Linked DNA regions of Homo sapiens: region 1 is linked to region 2. Evidence: promoter capture Hi-C in 16 types of primary human blood cells and fetal thymus (Javierre and others, 2016). All regions are on one chromosome and are shown on one strand. The core of a region is centred on a gene start or on the middle of the fragment in contact, and the rest is flanking DNA. Distances in the headings are between cores, read along the strand shown. Region 1 overlaps PCBP3 (poly(rC) binding protein 3). Region 2 holds the start of PCBP3 (poly(rC) binding protein 3).

Evidence for each region. Contacts are between HindIII fragments. The CHiCAGO score rates a contact against its expected background, and 5 or more counts as called.
Region 1: a contact is called between a fragment that was not itself captured here and the fragment with the promoter of PCBP3 in region 2, in 1 of 17 cell types (naive CD4 T cells). The highest score is 6.8, in naive CD4 T cells.

What each region holds. Positions count from the first base shown.
Region 1 is chr21:45,879,715-45,886,256 of GRCh38, forward strand. The region is part of intron 5 of PCBP3 (poly(rC) binding protein 3); the gene reads left to right. Among named protein-coding and RNA genes, the nearest start is that of PCBP3-AS1, 47 kb to the left of the region's middle. RefSeq lists an enhancer at 861-1,665. The HindIII fragment of the contact is 177 bases long and covers 2,620-2,796 here.
Region 2 is chr21:45,642,298-45,648,853 of GRCh38, forward strand. It overlaps PCBP3 (poly(rC) binding protein 3), which reads left to right and starts at 1,428. Exons shown (of 18, transcript NM_001384156.1): 1 at 1,428-1,571. RefSeq lists silencers at 633-1,622, 1,943-2,082. The HindIII fragment of the contact is 8,393 bases long and covers 1-4,982 here.

The DNA.
Region 1 (6,542 bases), core at 1,458-3,957, 240 kb after region 2:
GCCCTAGTCAAAGAGGAAGTATAAAAAAATTAGAAAATACTTTGAAGTAAGAGAAAATGAAAAAAAACCTATAGGATACTAGTAAATCAGTGCCTCTAGAGAAATTTATAGCATGACAGCATCCATTAGAAAAGAAGAAAGGTCTTCAAACAATAATGTAAGCTTCCACTTGAAGAAACTTTAAAAAAAGAAAACAAAACAAGCAGAAGGGAGTAAATAATCAAGACCCAAACCCAATGAAATTAAAAACAGAACTAAGCCTCTTCACATTGGAGTAGTTCAAATAAAGGAAGGACAGAAACAATCATGGGTTTCAAGAGCTTGCAAAACGGTGGCAGTTCTCTGCTGTCTGCGTTTGTTGTGTGGCGTGAGAGTCCATCCTGGTTTCGTGGCATTTTTCTCTGCATCCTTTTTATTGACAAGACGTTCCTGTCGTGAGTGGTTTTCCTCTGGCCTCTTCTGGGAGCTGGTGGATTTGCAAGTCACGGCCAGCCTTCGAAAGCAGGACTGTTGCCTGGTTCCCCAGTTGCCCTCCTGGAAAGCTCTACCCTGCTGGCCCTGGGCCTCGGAGGGGAGGGGAGCGCCTGGGGCGCCGCGGTCCTGACCCCACACAACTTCTTCTGCCATGGCCCAAACCCAGCCCTGTGCCGCCTCTGTGGGCCACAGGGACCCCCACAGCAGACCCCCAGCAAACCCTCAGTGACTGTCTGAATGAAAAACGCAGGAGTGGGTGGTGTGGGAGAAAATAGGATTACGGTGCTTCTGAGTATTGAGTTTAGAAATCGCTGAATTTCAGAACGTTCCACGAGGCCGTGGAAATTGAGCTGGGCTCAGTGCTCATGGTGTGAATCTGTCTAATCCTTAAATACATACTGCGCCCCCTTGTGGGCCAAGAGTGGTGCTGGGAACTGGGGATTCAGTGGTGAACGGAGGAGACACGTGTGCCCTCTGCCCTCTCGGTGCCAGGGTGGCCCCAGGTGACTGCAGCAGGGCCAGGAGAGACGGGGTTGTAGGTACAGCCTGGTAGGCAATACCCTCCAGAAGAAGGTCCTGATAAGTGGGTGGGAGAACTCACCCTGTCCCTGCCACGGAAGCCAGGGAGCCAGCGGGAGGGCAGGGAGCAGTGACAAACAAGACCAAGGGGGTAGGTGCTGGGCTCTGGACGGGAGGCTCAGGGCCGGGGTTAAACAGCACAGCAGTGGGAAGGTACCCAGGGGCTTCAGCACGGGGTGAGTCCAAGCTTAGAAGCTCACTGGCAGCGTCAGGCAGCTCATGCCCAGCCAAGTGCTCCTGAGTGGACATGCCTGGGCCAGCTGCGGGCCACAGCTGTGGCTGCTTTCCTGGCTGGCCTTCATCAAGCTGAGCGAGTTCCCCTCTATTCCTGTTTTTTTCTGAGCATTTTAATTTTTATCGTGAGTTGGTATGGAGTTTTGTGACAGGCTTTTCTGCATGCATTGATATGATTGTGTGCTTTCTTTAGTCTGTTAATAAGGTAGATTACACAGACAGATTTTCCAACTCTGAGCCAGCCTTGCATCACAGGAAGAATGGTTATAGCATGTAATTCTTGTGGTATATTGCTGAATTCTATGTGTTCATGTTTTTTGTGTGTGAAATTATTAAATCAAGCTAATTAACATATCCATCACCTCACATACCTTTGTTTGTGGTGAGGTTCGAGTGATCCTCCCACCTGTCTCCCAGGAGTTGAGACCACAGGTGCACTCCACCACACCCAACTAATTTTTTCAACATTTTGTAGAGATGGGGTCTATTTTGCCCAGGCTGGTCTTGAACTCCTAGACTCCAGTGACCTGCCTACCTCAGGCAACAGCCTAGGCAACATAGAGAGACCCCATCTCTATAAAGAATTTAAAATCACTCTCAGCAATTTTCAAGTATACATTGTTCTTACCCATAGTCACTGTGCCACACAGCAGCTCCCCAGCCTGTTTGACTCCCGTCTAACTGAACTTGTGCCAGTGACCAACAGCTCCCATTTCCCCCAACCCCCCGCAGTCCCCGACAGCCACCTCCCACCCTCTGCTTCTGTGAGATGCACTTTTTTAGATTCCACATGTGAGATCATGCAGTATTTGTCTTTCTGTGCCCAGTTCATTTTACTTGTTATAATGTCCTCCAGGTTCATCCGCAGTGACACAGATGACATGGCTTCTTTCTGTGTGTATGTCTGTGTGTGACATTTTCTTTATCCGTTCGTCTCTCTATGAACACTTAGGCTGATTCCACCATATCTAGGCTGTTGTGAGTTGTGCCACAATCAACACGGGCCTGCATGTGTCTCCTCACTATAGTGACTTTGGGTATATGCCCTGAAGTGAGACTGCTGGATCCTGTGGTGGTTCTATTTCTAGTTTTTTGAGGAACTTCCGTACCGTTCTCCATAATGACTGTACTAAGTTTCCCATCAGCACTGTACAAGGGTTCCCTTTTGTCCACCTCCTCACCAACACTTAGCTTTTGTCTTTTTGATAATAGCCATTCTAACAGGTATGAGCCGATATCCCATTGTGGTTTGAATTTGCATTTTTCTGGTGATTAGTGATGTTGTGCACTTTTTCATATACCTGTTAGCCATTTGTATGTCTCCTTCTGAGAAGCTTCCATTCCGTTTCTTTGCCATTTTTTTAAAATCTGGTATTTGTTTTCTTGCTATTGAGTTGTTTGAGTTCCTTACACATTTTGAGTATTAACTCCTTATCAGATGTTGTATGGTTTGCAGTTTTTTTTCCAGTTCCCTAGGTTGTCTCTTCACTCTGTTGTTTGCTGTGCAGAAGCTTTTCAGTTTGATATAATCCCATTTCTCTACTTTCTGCTTTTGTTGCCTGTACTTTGAGGGCCATATTTAAAAAAAAATCATTAACTAAACCAGTGTCGTGGAATTTTTCCCTGTGTTTTTTCTTAGTGGTTTTGCAGTTGCAGATCTTACATTTAAGTCTTTAACCCATTTTGAGTTGATTTTTATAGATGGTGTGAGATGAGGGTCTAATTTCATTCTTCTGCACAGGGACATCCAGTTTCCCCAACACCGTTTATTGAAGAAACTGTCCTTCCCCGTGTGTGTTCCTGGTGTCTTTATTGTAGATGGATTGGCTGCAGCTGCGGGGTTTCCTGCCAGGCTCTCCGCTCTCCTCCACCGGCCTGCATGTCGTTCTTACACCAGCGCCAAGTTCTGGTCTTTAGTATTTCATTCCTCTGCTTACTTGGATTTATTTTGTTCTTCTTTTATTAGATTCTTAAAATGAGTGCTTAGATTATTGATTGGAAGCTTTTCTCTCTTCAAATGTGTGTGTTTCGTGCCACAGGTTTCCCTCTCAGCACTGCTGTAGTTGTGTCCTGCGATTTTTGATATGCTGTGTTTTTATTTTCATTCAGGTCAATGTGTTTTTTGATGTTCCTTGAGATTCCCTCTTTGACCCTTGGATTGTTCATATATGTGTTTCATTTCCAAGTGCTTGGAACTTTTCTTGTTATCTTTCCATGATTGATTCTGGTTTGAGTCAGCTGTGGTCAGAGAACATACACTACGGTTTCAATTCTGTTAAATTTGCTGAGGTTTCTTTTATGGCCAAGGGTATGGTCTATCCTGGTATAGATTCTGTACATGCAGGAAGAGAGTGTGGATTCTGCTGATGCTGGACAGAGTGTTCCGGAAGTGTTCGTTAGGCCCCGTTGGTTGATGGTGTTGAGTCCTTCCAAATCCTTTGCTAATTCTCTGCCCAGTGGTTCTTTCAGTTGTTGACAGTAATAAAGTCTTCAGCTGTCGTTGTGGATTTTTATATTTTTCTTTTCACTACTATTAGTTTCTGCTTCACATATTTTACAGCTCTGTTATTTGATTCATACACATTTAGGATTGCTATTGCTTATTTAGACTCTTTTATCATTATGTAATGTCCTTCTCTGTCTCTGATCATTTTCATTGCTCTGACGTCTATTTTTTCCGATATTAATATAGCCATTCCTGCTTTCTTTTGATTAATGGTTGCACGATACGCCTTTTCCCATTAGTTTATCTTCAGTTTGCTTATATTGTTCTATTTGAAGTGAGTTTTCTGTAGACAGCATATGATGGGGTCATATTTTTAAATCCACTCTGCCCATCTGTGCTTCAATTGGTGTATTTGGACCATTTATACTTAAAGTTATTACGGTATTGAGATGTTAGGGCTTAAATCTGCCATTTCACCTTTTATTTATCTTTTGTATTTATTTATTTTGAGATAGGGCCCTACTCTGTCATCCAGGCTGGAGTGCAGTAGTGTGATCATGGCTCACTGCAGCCTCTTCTGGGCTGAAGTGATCCCCCCACCCCAGCCTCTCAAGCAGCTGGGACCACAGGCATGCACCACCATGCCCAGCCAATTTATTTTTATATTTTGTAGAGACTAGGTATTCCTGTGTTGCCCAGGCTGGCCTTGAACTCCTGGGCTCAAGTGATCCTCCCACCTTGACCGCCCAAAGTGCTGGGATTACAGGCGTGAGCCATCGCACCCAGCCTCATTTTTAATTTTGTTGGCTTTGTTTTTTGTTTCTCTGGTTTTAGTTTTTTCTTTCTTCCTGTGAGTCAGTGTACATTTTTTTGGAATTTTATTTTATCAGTAGCATTTTAGAGTATATATCTGTATGGCTTTCTTTTTTAGTGCTTGCTGTAGGTAGTATATCATATATATACACACATACTGAATACTAAGTATATAGCATATATATACACACACAAATATATATATGTAGCACATGTATATACACATGTATACATACACATATATAACATACACATATGCAACATGCATGCACATCTAAATATACATATATGTCACGTGTGTGTGCATGTATAATGTTTGAGACAGGATCTTGCTCTGTTGCCCAGGCTGGAGTGCAGTGACACGATCATGGCTCACTGCAGCCTCGACTAACCAGGCTCCAGCCGTCCTCCCACCTCAGCCTCCCCAGTAGCTGGGACCACAGACAGGCACCACCACACCCAGCTAATTTTTTAAATTTTTTTGTAGAGACAGGGTTTTGCCATGTTGCCCAGGCATATATGTGTTACCAATTCTACTGCTGTCAACATTTCACCAGTTGGAGGGAAGAAACTGTAACTTCCTTTATAATTTTTTTACTGTCCCTCATTTATGATGTAGTTGCTTTAAATATTTCCTAAGCATTCTGTACATATCAGACAATGCTGTAATTTTTGCATCAGTCATCAATCATAGTTTAGAGGACTCGAGAGTGAAGCCTTTCTATGCACTCACATGTTTGCCTACTATGTTCTTTCTTCCTTCCTGATATTCCAAGATTTCATCATTATTTCATTTCTGTTTAGAGGACTTAGGCCTTCTCCCAGCGTAGGCACGCTGGCAGCAACTTCTCTTCATTTTCCTTCATCCCATAATGTCTTTATTCCTGATTATTTTCACTGGATATATCATTCCAGTTGGCACTTCTGTCCTTTTCAGCACTGAGCAGTTCGGGGCCACGTCCTCCTGGCCTCCGTGCTTCTCGCCTGAAATCCACGCCATCCATTGTCTCCCTCCTGTAGCATGGGGTCATGTCCCTCTTGCTGCTTGCAAGAATTATTCTTTGCCTTTGGTTTTTAGACTCTTGACTACAATGTGTGTTTGTGTGGATTTCCTTGGATTTATCCTGTTTGGGGTTTACTCAGCTTCTCAAATATGTAGGTTTTTACTTTTTGCCAAATTTGGGAAGTTTTAGCCATTATTTTTTCAAGAGCCTTTATCCCCATCCCCTTTGTTCTCTTTTTCTGGTACCCTAAGGACATGAATGTTAGGTCCTCCCCATGTCCCACAGGTCTCAGGGGCCCCATCTGTGTGTCTTCGGTCTGTGTTCTCCCTCTTGTTGGGACGGGGTACTTTCTGTTGTTTTTTCTCACAGCTCCCTGCTTCTCTCCCCTGACTCTTTCACTCTGTTATGGTTCTTTCTAGTTCTGTCGTTCCCTTTCAGTTGCCTGCATCTCCCATTAGCTTGGTGGGAACTGGCTTCTCTGTGGAGGTATTCTATTCTGTTTTCTCATTTGTTTAAAGAGTGTTCCTGCTTGTTTGCTGAAGCATTTTTATGAAGGCTGCTTTCACTTCTTTGTCAGAGGATTCCGACAGCTCTGTCATCCTGGGGCTGACACTGTCTTTCATTCAGTTTGAGATCTTTTGGGTTCTTTGTATAACAGGTGATTTTCTTTTTGAAATCTGGACCTTCTGGATATTACGTTATGAGACTCTGGTTATATAAACCTTCTGTTTAGCTGGCTGCCTCTGATACTTCTCCAGCAGGGGAAACAAGAAGTGAAAGTCCAGGCTTTCCACTCGGCCTCTGCTGGTACCAAGGGCAGAGGACGTGGTGAGGTGTGGAGGAGGCCTCATTGCCGCTGGTACCAAGGACAGAGGACATGGTGAGGTGTGGAGGAGGCCTCGTTGCCGCGGGTGCCAAGGGCAGAGGACGTGGTGAGGTGTGGAGGCCTCATTGCTGCGGGTGCCAAGGGCAGAGGATGTGGTGAGGTGTGG
Region 2 (6,556 bases), core at 178-2,677:
CGCGATTCCTGCAGCTGGCTGCCGGCCCGAGGTTCTGGGGTGTCTGAGGTCTCGGGCGGGGCGAGGACGTTTCTCCGGCTCAGCCCCCCCACCTCCTGCCCTGCCGCCCCCCACACCCAGCTCCCCACGGACGCCAAGAGGCGCCTCCCACCCCGGCGAGGACCCGCGGGGAAACGGGGCCCAGGCGCGGCGACTGCGGAGGACGCGCCTCGGCCCCAGCGCCCTGGTCCTCGGGGCGTCCGGCTGCCCTTGCCCGAGGCCGGGGCGGGCGCTCAGCGCCGCGGAAGAAACGCCCGGGCGGGGACGCACAGCGAGGCGGGCTCCGCGGGAAGTACCGGGAAAACGGCGCGGAGCGGAACAGCCCGGAGCCAGCCCAGAGAAAGGGCGGCCTCCCCCTGCAGCCCCCGGGGCCCAGCAACGCCCCGCCCCAGGCCACGGCACGCGAACGCCGGGCGGGCGGAGGGGACAGGGCGGCGGGACCAGCGCGGGGCGGGCAGCGTCTGGGCACAGGCTCACGAGCCGCTCGGGGCCCCTGCCCGCCGGGCGCTGCGGCCCCAGCCTCCGGGCCGGGGCCAGGCCCACAGAGAACGGGAAGCGGGCGCTGCAGGGGGACCTTCGGGGTTGCGGCACGGCTGGGAATTCAACGGCCATTCCCGTCCCGTCGGGCCCACCCGCCCGCCCGCCAAATCCCCGCCCACCGCGGATCCGCCCCGTCCACCAAGGTCTCGCTCACCAACGGCCCGCCCCGCCCACCACAGGCCTGGCCCGCCCACGAAGGCTCGCCCCGCCCATCCACGGCCCTGCCCACCACAGGCCCGCCCCAAGCCTGGGCCCCGCCCCAGCAAGGGCACTAATCCCCTAACCCCCGAGCCCCGCCCACTGCTCTTGCCCTTCTCCCGCCCGCCCCGACTTAGGCCTCTCCCCGGCCTGGCCTCCCGTACTCAGCCCCGCCCCTGCCCCGCCCCCACCCCACCCCAAATGTGACCTGCCCCTCCCACTGCCCGTCCCCTCCCCGCTTCACTTCATTAGGCCCCCGCCCCGATTCTTGCCCCGCCCGCTCAATGTCCCGCCTACGACCCCGCCCACTACTAGTGACCGGCCCGCCCGTTCGAGGCCCCGCCTCCTCCCCGCCCAATGCTCGGCCCCGCCCCGCGCGTCATTGGGCCAGGTCCCCGCCCCGCCCCCAGCCCCACCCCCGCCCCTTTGACTGGAGTTGGCTTTTTCCAGAGAACTTTCCGGGCTCGGATTGGCCGCGCCGGTTGATGTTCCGCCCTTTCATTGGCCCGCGGCGCCCGCTTTCGCGAGCCTGCCCTTGGGCGGGGGCGGGGCCGGCGGCGGCGCGCGGCGCTAGATTGGTTAGCGGCGCAGAGGGGCGGGCCCGCGCCGCGCGCAGCGCTCGGGCTGGAGCGCCTGAAGCCGCGACCGCCGCCTCAGCCGCCTCAGCCGCGGTCGCCGCCGCTTCGGCTGACTTAGGCTCCGCCGCCGCCTCCTCACCCGCCTCGCCCCGACCCCGCCCGGGCCTCCCGGCCTCTCCCCGCCGGCCCGCGGGCTCGCCGTCCGGCGCAGGGCAGGTGAGTGAGCGGTGGCGGGCGGGGTCGGGGTCGGGCGCCCTTGCGGGTTACGGGGACCCAGTCCCCGACGGAGGCCGAGTGACGGGGCGACCCCGGGCCGCGGCAAACTTCGCCCGAGCCGGGGCGGGCGGGGGTCCCGGGCTGGGTCGCGCCGTCCCCGACCGCCGCCGGCGCCTGCGGCGGCCCGGGGCAGCGAGGGGACTCGCGCTCCCTCAAGGTGCGGTCGCCAGGCCTGGCCCGCCCGCCTCCGCCCCCTCCCCAAATTCGGAAGTTGCGGCGGGAAGCCGAGAACGTCTCGGATGTGGGTCAGAAAACGTCTGGACTACTTGAGGCTTCAGTTTCAAAACGGCACAAATTTCATCTCTTGATTGAGAAGAGATCTGGGGAACACCCCGGAGCGGCCGCGGCGGCTGGAGGGCGGCGGGGCGGGGCGCGGGGCCTCCTCCCCCTGGACGGCCGCCGGGAGAGCGCGGCCTCACCCCTCGGTGACCCTGCGGAGAGCCGCGCGCGGGCGGTGGGGCGCGCGCAGGTCTCTCTTGTTGCTCGCTGTGTTTTATTTTAATTTTGGGGGTGGTTAGAACGTGTTTCTTATTGTCCCCACACGTGTTCTAATTGGAAGTCTTGTTTCGTGAAAGAGTTTTTTTCTTTTTTTTGCCTGGTGATGTTTTCCAATTCCCTCCGCGCCACTCTGAAGTATATTACTGGCATAAGAAATTTGAAAGTTAACCAAAAGTCGGGTCCTAAATCTCGTGGCTCGGGGTTGGTTATCTTCCACCGTCCTTCAGAGCAGCCTGGATTTGCAGGTCTTGTTAGCCCTCCATGTGAGCCAGTAGCACTCTTAGTTGTTGAGTGTTTGTAGAGTGGGATTCGCCAGAAGGAATCTTGAGCAGCAGGGCCTTGCGGAGAGGCCTTTAGAGATTAGACTGGGCAACTTATAGACTCCCCCCATTTCAAAAATATTCCTCTGGCACAGGCCCTCACATATCCCTCTGAAATTGAACTCACTTTCAGGGGCAAACTGTTGCCCTTTTTCTTTTCTTTGGACTTTCTCAGATGTGGATCCCAAAGGAGTGTGCAAGGGTGCTTCCCTATTTAAGAGAACTAACTCCCAGTCCTCCTCATATTCAAGAATAATTCATCATCTTAAAGCGTGTCAGAGATACCTATTTTGGCCCCAAAAGGAGTGTTTGTAGAACAGTGGCACTCTAAAGGGATCATTTGCAAGATCTGAAAGGACCTAATTGATCATCACACGACAGAAGCAGAAATAGTTCTGGTGTTTTCAGGCTTGGAGATCTGTCAGAAAACATGGGGCCTTAAAACTAACAAGTGCAGTGACCGACTAACTGATGTCTCACTTTCGAGCAGTATTTTTTTTTTTTGCTTGTATGTAGATGCTGTTGTTTATACAGTGCAAGTTCATTACGAATGGTTTAGAACTTACGTAGCTTCACGTATTTTCTTAGTTGATAATATTATAAGGTTTTGAAAAAGTTTTGATGATAAATGGGGTCTTTATAACTGAAAAAAATGGACTCTGTCTAGAATTCAGGGCTTTTTGGCTGGCGTTGCCCCAGGTGCTGCTGATTAGTGGTGCTTTTGGACCTCAAAACATCACTTTCCCAGATATCTTTATAATGCTCATGGTGGGGGAAAACCCACACAGCTTTGTGGTTACGTTTTTAGCTATTTATGCGAAAAAGTTCAACATATAGTTGTATTTTGCTAGCTGTTTTGAAGAAGCTATTCTTTACCCTATTGTTCTGAGGAGGCTGACAGCATGCTGCATTTATAAATTTGAAAAAGCCTCACGAGCTTCTTGAACCAATCTAGCTATTCAGATTTGGATTCTGTGTATCAGTTTTGATTATTTCAGTTCCTGTGTCAATGGCAGAATCATTTCTATTTTTACAAAAGTCTCATGGCTTTATTGTAAAGGTGAACACTGAAACAGATTTTAGTAGATGTAAGTTGTGTATCCTCTCAGTGAAGAAGGCAGTGCTTTGGGCCATAACCAAGGAAAATACTTGCTCATGTATTGGAATTGCCCCAACTTAAACATTAGAATAAATGCTGTAGATTTTGGGGCAGCTCTGATGTCTCAGCTCTCATCCCTGGTGGCAGTGACTCAGAGGCAAGGCGTCATGGGCCCGCTGTCCATGGTGCTGAATCCGTGTCACCTGTTTCTCTCTCTCTCTCTCTCTCTCTCTCTCTTTCTCTCTCTCTCTCTCTCTCTCTCTGTGTGTGTGTGTGTGTGTGTGTGTGTGTGTGTGTGTGTTTTGGGGCAGGGGGAGCTCAAACTTCCTTTCCAGTGTACTTTAAAATTAATTTCAGAATTCATATTATTAAATAAAATTTGATCAGGGAAATTATGTTGAATGGGAGCGTGTCTTGAAAACACGCCATTTTATTCTTCTTTTTAAGGAGGATAATTATGCTACAACATTCAATTTCCTTTGCTTAGTCTTCACTGTCTCTCTAGGTGGGAGTTTTGTTGCTTGAGTATGGGCATCAAGTAACAAATCACTGACATTAAATGAAACCCTGTTTTCTTAACAACCATTCCTTTAAGAAAGTACCAGTTTGTTTTAGTTTGTTTTCTTTTGCTTATAACAGAATACCTGAAACTAGGTAATTTACAAAGCAAAGGAATTTATTTCTTATAGTCATGGAGGCTGAGAAGTCTAAGGTCCGGGGGCCAAAGCCACCAGCTCCACTCCCATGACAACCCACTAATCCATTAACCCATGAATGGATTAATCCATTTTATGAGGGCAGAGCCCTCTTGATCCAATCACCTCTTAAAGGTCCCACCTCTCAATACTGCTTCTGCATTGAGGATTACATTTCAGCATGAGTTTTGGAGGGGATATTCTAATCATAGCACCTTTATTACAATATAGACATACATCTGTAGGCATATATCTATGTAGGGGCAACTTGTTCCCAAAAGGGTTGACTCTAGCATGTTTTGCATTCTCCAGCATGTTGGTTCTCAGCCTTTCCTGGCGATGGGATCTGTTTATGTGTTGGGCTACTGAGTGGTTGCCAGGCATTCCTGTTGTGTTAGAGCTATATCTACTCTCTTTTCTCTAATATTGAGGACATCTTTGTAAATCATTTTACATGAATCTTTTCTTTCTCTTGAGGTTAATGTTGTCAGTTACTTTAGAATTGCCCCACAGGTTAGCAGTAAAAAAAAAACAAAAAAGATAGATGTCACTTGTGGTACAGAGATGTCACATGGTAGTAAGTTGTATATCAAGCTAAGCAGTGGATTGTTGAGGTGCTTTTTGTTATGATCATCTGAACTGATTCTGTGGCCCCATTTGTTGTACACTTAACCCAGGTTACTCTTTGACATCTCTTTTGTTGACAGAAACTCAGGAAAACTTCCTTCTGCCTCATCCAAGCTTCAGAAATACTCCCTGATTCCCTACTGTTTGCCATTTCCTATGCTATGATCTGGGAACCCATGAGGGAATGAGACAGAGTTCTTATTGAAGGGCTCACCTGTTCGGATTGAGGAAGGAACATGTAAACAGATAATTACAGGGGGCCATACTCAGTGCTGCAGTTGGGATACATAGAAAACCAGGCAAACGTGTTGAGGGGCAATTCATTTGGGCCGAGAATCAGGGAAAGCTTTAGAGAGGAGGTGGCCTTTGGGCTGGACCCTAGGGCATGAGTTATAATTGGGCATGGATTGGGTATACATTTATTAGAAAAAGACTGGAAGGTTGGAATAACCGGAGTACAGAGTGTGTAGTGGTGTGGAGGCTGGAGGTATGGAAGCATAGTGAAGGAGTTGGGACCCTGCTGGAAGTGTTAGGGGCATTGTGAAATGGTTGGAACTTTGTTGGAGATGGAGGGGGGTGAAAGTGGAGGAGGAGTTGCATGGTAGGTAGAATAATGGCTCATAAAGCTGTCCACATCCTAATCTCAGGACTATGTTATGTTACATGGCAGGGGAGTTAAGGCAGCAGATGGAATGAGGTTGCTAATCAGCTGATTTTAAAATAGGGAGATTATCCTGGATTATCTGGGTGGGCTCTGAGTAATCACAAGGGTTCTTAAAAGTAGAAGAGAGAGGCAGAATAGTCAGTGTCAGAGTGATGTGAGGTGAGAAAGACTCTAGCTGCCATTGCTGGCTTTGAAGATGGAAGGGTGCACTAGTCAAGGAATGTGGGAAGCCTTTGGAAAAGGCAAGAAAAGGGATTCTGTCCCCTAGAGACTTGGGAAAGGAATGCAGTCCTTGGTTTCTAGCCCAGTGAGACCCTTGTCTGACTTGTGACCTCCAAAACTGTAAGATAAATGTTTGTTGTATTAAAACACTAAGTGTCTGGAAGTTTGTTCCAACAGCAGTAAGAAACCGATAAAAACTGGGTCTCTTCATTTGGCAGTCTTAGCTGACAAAATTAAGGAGGGAATAACATGATTAGATTGGTTTTAGAAGATAAAATGATGGAGCTGCCACTTGGGTATAATTCAGCCCAGATAAGCATAGTTCTATTCTCTATTTCACCTCCTAGGTAAGACTGGCATCTGATATTGTCTTATTTGGCCCAAATCCCACTTCCAGTCTCTCTCAGCAGCTTCCACAGCCTATACCACTCCCAATTGCCGTGTCCCACTGGGTCATCTTTCCTCTGTGTTGGACACTTGAGAAAGAGTAGACCAGGTATGCACTTACCACTGAGATTGTGGTGTCACAGGCTAGGCCCAATTCCAACCTCATAGCTGTTGTCAGATTACTTTCCAGAGGTTTGTTTCTTTACATCCTCACTAATCCTTCGTAGCTTCAGATGTTTTAATTATTGCCAATTGAGTAGATATTAAATATCTTACTGTTTTAATTAGCATTTCCTTGGCTAGTGAGTTTGAGGATTTTCTACCCATACTTTGGCCACTTGAGCTTCTTCTAAAAATTGTATTCTTATATTGTTTGTCCACTTATTGTCTGGATTATCCTTTTTATAGCTTTT